Regions from separate parts of the Homo sapiens genome. Here regions 2, 3 and 4 are each linked to region 1. The links are contacts of gene promoters, found by promoter capture Hi-C in blood cells and fetal thymus (Javierre and others, 2016). All regions are on one chromosome and are shown on one strand. The core of a region is centred on a gene start or on the middle of the fragment in contact, and the rest is flanking DNA. Distances in the headings are between cores, read along the strand shown.

Region 1 (2,700 bases), core at 29-2,528:
TATATTAGCCGGGCATGGTGGCATGCGCCTGTAGTCCCAGCTACTCCGGAGGCTGAGGCAGGAGAATTGCTTGAACCCAGGAGGCGGAGGTTGCGGTGAGCCGAGATCTCACCATTGCACTCCAGTCTGGCGACACAGTGAGACTCCTTTACAAAAAAAAAAAAAAAAAAAAAAAAAAAAGATTCCCTCAAATAAGTTGAGGTGGGGGGAGGTGTATTGTTACAATGCAAATCCTTTCCCATAAAATCCTTTAATAGCTCTCAGTGGCCTGCAGAATAAAACCCCAAATCCTTAACATGTCCCAGTTTGGTATTTTCCTACGCTTGGCCCTACCCGGGCCACCCCTTTCCAGGCTCTTTAATGGCGGAGCCTAGCTCTTTTCTGCCATGTGGCCTTACAGACTGGTTCCTGGGACAAGAATTGGCTACTTCTCCCTACCCAAGCTTTCGTTCGTTTTTTTATTCCTGGCCCCCACCACCTCCCCCCCATTTCTCTGCTCTCCTGTTAATTCCTTTGGAGCGATTACTATTTGTGAGTAGACATCCATTCGCGTGCATTCAGATCTATTATCCAAAAGACAGACGCTTATCCGTCTAGGTAGTCAGGCTCCAAGAGAGGAGCCCAGTCGGTCTGACTCCCGCAAACTCCCGGCACCGTGTCAGCCACATAGTAGGCGTCTACTGGAGACTTTGTTTAGATCAGTTAGTCAACGCAGGCAGCAGCTGAATCAGGAGAGAGTCCCCAACGCAAAGAAAGGGGCTCCTGAGACCCTTCGGGGCGCCGAGGCCCAGGTTTCGTCTCCCTCTGCTGCAGCAATGCCGTCGACTCAAAGGGGCTCGGGGCTGGGGAACTGGTTCTGGCAAACAGCACAACCTCGCCCGAATCCTGGTCCGCAGTAACTCGATCTTTCCCTTAGGCGGCGCTTCGGAGGGAAGGCGCCTAGTTCAGCGCGAGGCATCACGGGATTTGTAGTCTCCGTGGGCATATACCCACCGCGCTTGCGCACCGGTGAGGCGCGCACCGCCCCGCTCCACGCCCCTATCAGGATTCGGGTCCTCGTGAGGAGCAGTCCAGGCGACAGCGTTCCAACCTAATACGCCTCTCTCGCCCGCCGGGGACAAGACGGGCTGGGGAAAGAATCTGCTCTTCGGAGGCTATCGCAGTGCCTTGGAAGGCGGCAGGAATCCGCACACACCCGCCCCGGAAGTGAGCCGCTTCTGGCGCGGGGCATTGTGGGGGGCGTAGTCTCTTTCTCAGGCGGTCCTTCGCGGCGTCCCCGGGGCCCACTCCCGAGCGCAGGCGGGCAGCCAGGCGGGCGGCGCGGCGCGGGCCGGCAGGAAGCGTATTCTGGGCACGGGGCGCCGGGCGGGCCGGCTGCGCCGAGCGGCAGTGGTGGGATACCACCCAAGGCCTCGCGCGGCGCCGCCCGTCGAGGGGCGGGCGGCGGCGTAGCCACTGGGCCGTCGAAGAGCGCAGGAGGCCGGTGGGCCGGGCCGGGCCGCGCGGCGCAGCCATGCCTGGCTTTACGTGCTGCGTGCCAGGCTGCTACAACAACTCGCACCGGGACAAGGCGCTGCACTTCTACACGTTTCCAAAGGACGCTGAGTTGCGGCGCCTCTGGCTCAAGAACGTGTCGCGTGCCGGCGTCAGTGGGTGCTTCTCCACCTTCCAGCCCACCACAGGCCACCGTCTCTGCAGCGTTCACTTCCAGGGCGGCCGCAAGACCTACACGGTACGCGTCCCCACCATCTTCCCGCTGCGCGGCGTCAATGAGCGCAAAGTAGCGCGCAGACCCGCTGGGGCCGCGGCCGCCCGCCGCAGGCAGCAGCAGCAACAGCAGCAGCAGCAGCAACAGCAGCAACAGCAGCAGCAGCAGCAACAGCAGCAGCAGCAGCAGCAGCAGCAGCAGTCCTCACCCTCTGCCTCCACTGCCCAGACTGCCCAGCTGCAGCCGAACCTGGTATCTGCTTCCGCGGCCGTGCTTCTCACCCTTCAGGCCACTGTAGACAGCAGTCAGGCTCCGGGATCCGTACAGCCGGCGCCCATCACTCCCACTGGAGAAGACGTGAAGCCCATCGATCTCACAGTGCAAGTGGAGTTTGCAGCCGCAGAGGGCGCAGCCGCTGCGGCCGCCGCGTCGGAGTTACAGGCTGCTACCGCAGGGCTGGAGGCTGCCGAGTGCCCTATGGGCCCCCAGTTGGTGGTGGTAGGGGAAGAGGGCTTCCCTGATACTGGCTCCGACCATTCGTACTCCTTGTCGTCAGGCACCACGGAGGAGGAGCTCCTGCGCAAGCTGAATGAGCAGCGGGACATCCTGGCTCTGATGGAAGTGAAGATGAAAGAGATGAAAGGCAGCATTCGCCACCTGCGTCTCACTGAGGCCAAGCTGCGCGAAGAACTGCGTGAGAAGGATCGGCTGCTTGCCATGGCTGTCATCCGCAAGAAGCACGGAATGTGAACTGGTGCCCCGGCAGCCTGCTGGACTCCCAGACCCCATCCAGCCAGGGGACCGCAGGCCATTGTTGAACTCCTCTATACTCCTGGGCACTGGTTGACAGTACTGAGGCTTAAGGCAGCTGGACTCTCTTGCTGGTGACCTGGCATCCTCAATTGTTTCCTCCTGAAGTGGAAGCTGGGGCCTTAGACTCTGCCCTGGTGACACCAGCAATTATGACTTTGTCTACCCTTCCTCCCCAGTTA
Region 2 (2,700 bases), core at 79-2,578, 160 kb before region 1:
TCAAAAAATAAATAAAATCAAAACGAATACAGAGGAGTTGTTTTATCATACGTACTGTTTATTAGGCCTCTCCGAGAGTCAGGCCCAGCCTGGCCCCCTGGTAGCTCACATACTGACCAAGCCCACAGGAGACAAATTGGTGCCTCTGGTCAACCCTTCCCCCTCCTCTCACTTCCTACCCCCACCTCTGCCACCTTGACCCTGAAGAACCCCACAGAGCATCTGTCATTTGTACTTATGGGCATCTTACGTAGGTCTAAACTCCCAGGATTACAAACCTCAGTGCTGCAGCAAGGAACAAGGCATGTGGATTGGTAGTCTATGACATCATTCAATCTCTTCAATTTATTTATTTATTTTTTTAATACATATTTTGTTATTATACTTTAAGTTCTAGGGTACATGTGCACAACGTGCAGGTTTGTTACATATGTATACATGTGCCGTGTTGGTGTGAATCTCTTCAATTTATGACACTTCAATCTCCTGCTCTTCTTTAATAAAAGAAGCTTTACAACAGGTACTAGCAGGACAATAAAGAACAGCCAGCCAAGTGTCACATACCTGGGATAGGGTGGCCAGGCCCTTGCACGGGGCCCGGCAGGGAGAGTAGCCCCTGACTGCTAGCACTACTGCTTCTGGAGGGTCTCCAGTGCTTCTCCACACTTGTGGGCCTTCCAGATTAGGGAAGACAATCACAGTTCTGGGGGTGAATTTTGCCATTTGGCTGCTGAACACATATGGCTGACCAGGGAGGGATGTAATGAGGAAATGAGGTTCTCAGACACCCCACCTGAGAGCTGCTGTTCTGGCCAATTCAGAAGCCTCCTGCTATAATGCCTCGCTGCTGGCGACAGAGTGGATACTGCAGTGTGAGGCAGAGAGGAGGTGGGTTTAGAGGAAAAAGGACTTTTATGACTGCTAGGAGTTTGGTGGTGATAAAACTAGGATAAGGAATTCCTGTTTCATGCCTCAAGAGGTGAGGAAAGAGGGAAAGACCTCTCTTCTTGAATCTGAAAAATAGTCTGTTTTTGTTTTTTTAGATGGGGACTCGCTTTGTTACCCAGTGGTATAATCTTGGCTCATTGCAACCTCCGCTTCCTGGGCTCAAGCTAACCTCCCACCTCAGCCTCCCAAGTAGCTGGGACCACAGGTGCACGCCACTGTGCCCAGCTAATTTTTTGTATTTTTGGTAGAGATGGGATTTCATCATGTTGCTCAGGCTGGTATTTAACTCCTGAGTTCAAGCGATCTGCCCACCTTGGCCTCCCAAAGTGCTGGATTAGAGGTGTGAGGCACTGAGCCCAACCCTGAATAACAGCACTCTTAAACTTAGGGCTCAGTAGTATCAGTGTGGGACTGCAAGGACATCTTGACTTAAACAGGCTCCTGAGGGCTAGCTGTACAGAGTCTTTGGGTAGCCATGAAAGACATGTCTACCTGAGTTTATCTAGCTCTCCTGCCAGGAAGTCAAGGGAGAGATTGGAGAAGCTGAAATCTGCTGGGCACAGTGGCTCCCACCTATAATTCCAGCACTTTGGGGGGCCAAAGTAGGATGATTGCCTGAGGTTAGGAGTTCGAAACCAGCTTGAACAACACAGCAAGATCCTGTCTCTACAAAAATGTTTTCTTTTTACTTTTCTTTTCTTTTTTTTTTGAGATGGAGTCTCGCTCTGTCACCCAGACTGGAGTGCAGTGGCGTGATCTCGGCTCACTGCAACCTCCATCTCCTGGGTTCAAGCAATTCTCCTGCCTCAGCCTCCTGAGTAGCTGGGACTATAGGCACGTGCCAACACGCCCAGCTAATTTTTGTGTTTTTAGTATAGACGAGGTTTCACCAGGTTGGTCAGGCTGGTCTCAAACTCCTGACCTTGTGATCCGCCCGCCTCGGCCTCCCAAAGTGCTGGGATTACATGCATGAGCCACCAAGCCTGGCCTGCAAACTTAGTGTTTTTCTAATGAACCACAGAAGTGCCAAGAATTGGGCACAGAAGCCCACCTTTTAGTGACAGACTTAAGAAAACATTCAACTGTGGCAAAGATGCTAGGGGCACCTTGCACTTAAAATATAATTTCCTGAACCACTTCTGAACTGAAGAATAAAATATATTAGGGCCCTTCCCCTCTCCCCTTTAAGAAATTCATGGGAAAGCTTTAAGGATGAAATCGGAGGTAGAAGATGAAGAACATAGGTCAGACCAAAGCAGAAAACAAGATGCCATAAAAAGAGCTGTGATATGAAAAGTATTATCTCTGGAAGGTTAAGTCCAATCATTAATTTTAGGAAAAACTAATAATGAGGGCAAGAAATGATCTCGTGGCCTTAGAAGTAAGGTAAAAATATAAAGCTCTAGCAAGGAGAGAAAAATCACAGCACGAAGACTTGGTGAAATGTAACCAAGATGTCATTCCTTAATGCTCCTGGGCCTCAGTTTAATTCAAAATGATTGGATCAGTGGCTCTCAATCCTTCATGTCCACCAGAGTCACCTGCAAGGCTTGTTCAGACACAGATAGCTGGATCCCAGAGATTCAGTAGGTTTGGAGTGGGGCCTGAGAATTTAGATTTCTTTTTGTTTGTTTGCTTTTGAGACAGTCTTACTCTGTCACTCAAGCTGGAGTGCATGATCACTGCTCACTGCAGCCTCTATCTCCTGGGCTCAAGCGATCCTTCTGCCTCAGCCTCCCAAGTAGCTGGGAC
Region 3 (2,700 bases), core at 17-2,516, 230 kb after region 1:
ATCACAGAGAAAGGGAGCGGCTTTCAAGCATAGGCAGGGCTGCTTCTGGTCCAGCCAGGTGCCTTCTTCCCAGACAAGCTGAGTCAAGGACTTGCCACCAGCCGGGGCGCCCCGACTTACTTCCCACTTTGTCCTGAGCGTGCCGTGGCACTTTCCCAGCCACTGAAGTCATAGGCCCACGTGGAGTTACTAGAGCAGCATAGGGGGTGGGGGATGGGAGGGTGTCCTGGAGGGCTGGGGAAGGCCACCTTCACCCAATACTGCTCTCCTGCCCTACCTCTAGCCAGCCGACTTCCACTGGGTGTCCCAGGCAGTCAGTCATCTTGCCTCCCTGAGCCTTCATTTCACGGTCTGTGGAGTGATGGTGACAGTTGCACCTCACACTTGTATAGATAAATGTAGTCATGAGTAACCCATGTGAACTAAATGATGCTGTGTTTTACCCACGTAGGGGGAAGTTAGAGGCTATTCAAGATGTGGGAAGGGAAGGTGCCCATTCTGGTTAGAAGGAATAGAAGAATCTCACCCCTTTCCTGGCACTGGACCTGCCATGCCAGAATTTGGTGTGTTTCCCCTCCCTTCCCTGGAAGATACTTGGCAGTAGGTCCTCTGTGGTGGCTGAAGCAGGAAGGGGCTCCCGCACTTCGAGACCTCAGTCAGGCTGTCCAGGAGAATGTGTTTCTGACCGTGGTCCTTGGCTGTGACCCTCAAGCTTTGTACCACTAGCTGGAAGAGTAGATGACCAAGGTCGAAGTGGCTTTTTAATTTATTTTTATTTTTATTTTTAATTTTAGATAGGGTCTCAGTCTGTTGCCCAGGCTGGAGTGCAGTGGCATGATCATAGCTCACTACAGCCACAACTCCTGGGTGCAAGCAATCCTCTTGCCTTAGCCTCCCTAGTAGCTATGGCTACAGGTGTGTGCCAACATGCCTGGCTAATTTTCTTTTTCTTTTTTTTTTTTTTTTTGAGACAGAGTTTTGCTGTTGTCGCCCAGGCTGGAGTGCAGTGGCACGATCTTGGCTCACCGCAACCTTCGCCTCCAGGGTTCAAGCGATTCTCTTGCCTCAGCCTCCCGAGTAGCTGGGATTACAGGCACCCGCCACCACGCCCAGCTAATTTTGTATTTTTAGTAGAGACGGGGCTTCACCATGTTGGTCAGGCTGGTCTTGAACTCCTGACCTCAGGTGATCCGCCCGCCTTGGCCTCCCAAGGTGCTGTGATTACAGGCGTGAGCCACCGTGCCCAGCCGATAATTTTCTTTTTTTTAATTTTTGTAGAGTTGAGTCTTACGTTGCCCAGGCTGCTCTTGAACTCCTAGCCTCAAGCAGTCCTCCTGCATTGGCCTCTCAGAGTGCTGGGATTACAGATGTGAGCCACTGCTCCTGGCCAGTGGTGGTTCTTCTTATGGGGGTCACATTGCCTTGGCTACACATACATCTCTGGTGCCTTCTTGGAGCTCCTTTCCCTGCCATCAGAGCATAGCCCAGGCCTTAGAGCCTGCCTGGGCATCAGGCAAGTCATTTCTTTTCTCAGGCGGTGCAGTATGACAACCACTACACCAACACCAAGTACTGCTTGTGCCAGATGCTACGAGAACAGCTGGAGTCGCCCCAGGGAAGGTTGCTCCATGCTGCCCAGTCTTCCCGGGAAATTTGGTAAGAGGCACAATAAGATGTCCATCTGTCCTTGTACGCATTGCCCAAGTTTGACTTTGAGCCCTAAGCTGACTCCACCAGGGGACCAGGGACACAGCTTCTGGATGTAGATGTAGAGGAGTGGAGTGATGGTACAGCTTTGCCTCCCAGGAGGGGATTCTTTGAAAGCTTTGAAACGTCCCATCCCTGGACGGATCAGCAGAGCTCTGGGAACTAGGGTACTAGAAGGATAGAGGAATGCAAAGGAAGGGGATTTTCCATAAATGGGATAGTCACAGGCCAGGCCCCCAGGAACCAGTGGTCAGGAGAATTGGGCTGTAGCATGGAGCCTCTACCTTGAGCCTGCACTCACATCCATCACCCTGCAGTTTGAGAGACCACCTGTTGATTCTCTAGATCAGGTGCAGCTCTAGCTCAGATGGTTGACAGTTGAGGCCCTTCACAAGCTGGCCTAGCCACTGCCCCCACAGCTCCCTGTCTACCTGTCTGCTTCCAGAACTCCACACCTGTGCTTGTAATGGGTCGTCTGCCTGGAAGGCTCTCTCCCTCTCACGTGAGCTATCTGTAGCCTCCCTCTTACATAGATGCCTTTCTGAACCACTTTTGCCATTGGGGATCTATCTTCGTTTGAGTCTTCCAGCCTTCAAGATGTTTCCTAGAAGGGAAAAACCTTTGCCAGAGCCCTCTTCCCACCCTTGGCTTATGGCATTGGTTCAGTCCCTACCCCACATAACTCTGTAGCTCTGGGTGGTGCCTCAGTGTCAGCTGAGACCCATGTATAACTGCCTGTGGCTGGGCGGGAAGTGGGGAACCACTTAGTGGTCAGGCCTCTGTCTCTTCCTCCCATGGGCCCATGTGCTTGATCAGCATTGGTTAACTCAGTCACGGCTGGCTGGGGATACCATCTGTGTGCTTCCCCTCAGGAGAGAGGCTGCAGGTGGTGGGGGTGACCTTTACAACCTTTGCCACCCAGCCCAGCCTCCCTCCAGTGTCCACGCTTGGGTTCACATTCACTTTCCATCTTCCAGTCCACAGTAATCCCAG
Region 4 (2,700 bases), core at 157-2,656, 210 kb after region 1:
CATTATGCACCGTTGTTGTTTCTATAAAGTTGCTTTAAACATCAAATGAGCGGATACTGAACCATTGACCCTGGGGTAAACAAAGGGTTAGGTTTGTGCAAGCCTCTGGTCATATTTTCATCAACTTGTCAGTCCATAACTTTGTTTTATGTGTGTTTCTTTGTTTTTGTTTGGTTTCTTTTTTGTGACCAGGTCTCACTCTGTTGCTCAGGCTGGAGTGTACTGGTGTGACCATAGCTCGCTGCAGCCTCAAACTCCTGGGCTCAAATGATCATCCTGCCTCAGCCTTCCAAGTAGCTGGGATTTCAGGTGCACACCTCCATGCCCAGCCAATTTTTAAATTTTTTGTAGAGATGGGGGTCTTGCTATGTTCCCCAGCTGGTCTCAAACTCCTGGCCTCAAGTGATCCCCCTGCCTCAGCCTCCCAAAATACTGGGATTACAGGACTTAGCCATCACACTGGCCATGTGTTTCTGTTTAAAGGCATATTATTTAATATATACCATTGATTCACTTAACATTGAACCCACTAACATGGGTAATAGTGCTATAATTTCATGCCGAAACAAAGCTTATTCAAGATGTGTATTTTCTCTGTAAGTCCCATGACCGTTTTCTTGTGCTTAGGAACATTAGATAGCATTTCAGCAGTATGGTTGGGACCATTTTATTTTATTTATTTTATATTTTTTGAGATGGAATCTTACTCTGTAGCCCAAGCTAGAGTGCAGTGGCGTGATCTTGGCTCACTGCAACCTCCGCCTTCCCGGCTCAAGAGATTCTTGTGCCTCAGCCTTCCAAGTAGTGGGGACTACAGGTGTGTGCCACCACACCCAGCTAATTTTTTTTTTTGTATTTTAGTAGAGACTTGAGTTTCACCATGTTGCCCAGGGTGGTCTCGAACTCCCTAACCTCAGGTAACCCACCCGCCTCGGCCTCCCAAAGTGCTGGGATTACAGGTGTGAGCCACCGCACCCAGCCACTTGGGACCATTTTAAACAGTGAGATCACCAACAAAAAGCATAGACATGCAGAAATGTGGCATGAAATATACCACAAAAGGGACACTTGTTGACAGTATGAGAGCTGAAGGGAGAAGACAGAGCATCACCTTGTTTGACCTCAGCTGGGAACATGCACATCAGGCAACTCAAAACTTTCACCACTCTGTTCCTGTCCTTGGATGACCATGAAAACATCACAAGTATTGATTTTGGGGTCACAAATAAATGTTAGCAAATAGGCACATTTGCAAATATGCAACTATGAATAGTATAGGAGATTGATTGTTATATAGTAACCTTCCACTCATAGCACCTGTCTCACTGTAAGTAAATAGTAAATTTGCTGAACTTCAGAGTGATGTTTTCTGGGAAAATTTGGGCCAAATCTGAAACATAGACAAACTTCCATGTATGGACTTTTTTTTTTTTTTTGAGACAGAGCCTCCCTCTGTTGCCCAGGCTGGAGTGCAGTGGCGCGATCTCAGCTCACTGCAATCTCTGCCTCCCAGGTTCAAGAGATTGTGCTGCCTCAGCCTCTTGAGTAGCTGGTATTACAGGCACCCTCCACCACGCCCAGCTAATTTTTGTATTTTTAGTAGAGATGCGGTTTTGCCATGTTGTGTAGGCTGGTTTCAAACTCCTAACCTCACATGATCCACCTGCCTTGGCCTTCCAAAGTCCTAGGATTACAAGCGTGAGCCACTGCGCCCGGCTATGTATGTACATTTTGTTTCAACATTTTTTTTTTTTTCGAGACGGAGTCTTGCTCTGTCGCCCAGGCTGGAGTGCAATGGCGCGATCTCGGCTCGCTGCAACCTCCGCCTCCCAGATTCAAGCGATTCTCCTGCCTCAGCCTCTCGAGTAGCTAGGGTTACAGGCATACCCCACCACGCCTGGCTAATTTTTGTATTCTTATCAGAGACGGTGTTTCACCATGTTGGCCAGGCTGGTCTTGAACTCTTGACCTCATGATCCGCCCGCCTCGGCCTCCCAAGGTGCTGGGATTACAGGCGTAAGCCACCATACCCGGCCCGGTTTTAACATTTTAAACGTTGCAAAATGTTAACCACCATTCAGAAAAAGTGCATTAAACACAAACATGCAGTTTCACAAGTAATTGCAAAATGAACAACCATCACCCAGGTCAGGAAATAGACCATCCTCATCATCACAGAAGCCTCCCATGTGCATAGTTATTTTTGGTAAGAATGGTATACATTTAGGATCTCTTTCCCCTTGAAGCTTATACTCTGGCTGTGTTTTCTTCCAGGGCTTAGGCTAGCGTTGAACTTGCATCTTCATTGAGTGACCCTATGTGTTTGGGTTTTCTTGCAGAGGTGCTCAGCACAGTGGACTTTGTCGCCCCTGATGATCGAGTTGTCTTCCGCACCTGTGAAAGAGAGCAGAACAGGGTGGTCTTCCAGATGGTGAGAGACTCCATTGCTGCATGCCCTCCTGAGGCTCACCATCCCCTGGGATTTCCCAACTCATGCCCTGTGCCAGGCCAGTGTTGAATACCTGGGGTACATTGTACAACGATGGCTTCCTGAAGATTCTGCTTTAATGTTTTCCAAAGAGCCAGTCATGAGTAATTATACTATTGGAGACAGTTTATGGAAATCAAGCTATCACAGTCTTATATGTCTCTAGTCTCAAATTTAATTTACTTACTTGTAGGAATTGTCTGTTTGGCATG

What was found. Contacts are between HindIII fragments. The CHiCAGO score rates a contact against its expected background, and 5 or more counts as called.
Region 2: a contact is called between a fragment that was not itself captured here and the fragment with the promoter of THAP11 in region 1, in 4 of 17 cell types (erythroblasts, endothelial precursors, neutrophils and 1 more). The highest score is 6.0, in erythroblasts.
Region 3: a contact is called between a fragment that was not itself captured here and the fragment with the promoter of THAP11 in region 1, in 3 of 17 cell types (total B cells, neutrophils and naive CD4 T cells). The highest score is 5.8, in total B cells.
Region 4: a contact is called between a fragment that was not itself captured here and the fragment with the promoter of THAP11 in region 1, in 1 of 17 cell types (naive B cells). The highest score is 5.5, in naive B cells.

The regions. Positions count from the first base shown.
Region 1 is chr16:67,841,042-67,843,741 of GRCh38, forward strand. It overlaps THAP11 (THAP domain containing 11), which reads left to right and starts at 1,279. Exons shown (of 1, transcript NM_020457.3): 1 at 1,279-2,700. The coding sequence starts at 1,514. The coding sequence ends at 2,458. The region is part of intron 1 of CENPT (centromere protein T); the gene reads right to left. RefSeq lists enhancers at 993-1,042, 1,495-2,241, 1,953-2,112, 2,553-2,602 and a silencer at 1,293-1,472. The HindIII fragment of the contact is 11,152 bases long and covers 442-2,700 here.
Region 2 is chr16:67,680,399-67,683,098 of GRCh38, forward strand. The region is part of intron 2 of GFOD2 (Gfo/Idh/MocA-like oxidoreductase domain containing 2); the gene reads right to left. Among named protein-coding and RNA genes, the nearest start is that of C16orf86, 15 kb to the left of the region's middle. The HindIII fragment of the contact is 1,643 bases long and covers 508-2,150 here.
Region 3 is chr16:68,072,500-68,075,199 of GRCh38, forward strand. It overlaps DUS2 (dihydrouridine synthase 2), which reads left to right. Exons shown (of 17, transcript NM_017803.5): 13 at 1,535-1,656. Among named protein-coding and RNA genes, the nearest start is that of NFATC3, 12 kb to the right of the region's middle. The HindIII fragment of the contact is 1,112 bases long and covers 711-1,822 here.
Region 4 is chr16:68,051,225-68,053,924 of GRCh38, forward strand. It overlaps DUS2 (dihydrouridine synthase 2), which reads left to right. Exons shown (of 17, transcript NM_017803.5): 5 at 2,340-2,431. Among named protein-coding and RNA genes, the nearest start is that of DUS2, 29 kb to the left of the region's middle. The HindIII fragment of the contact is 1,675 bases long and covers 570-2,244 here.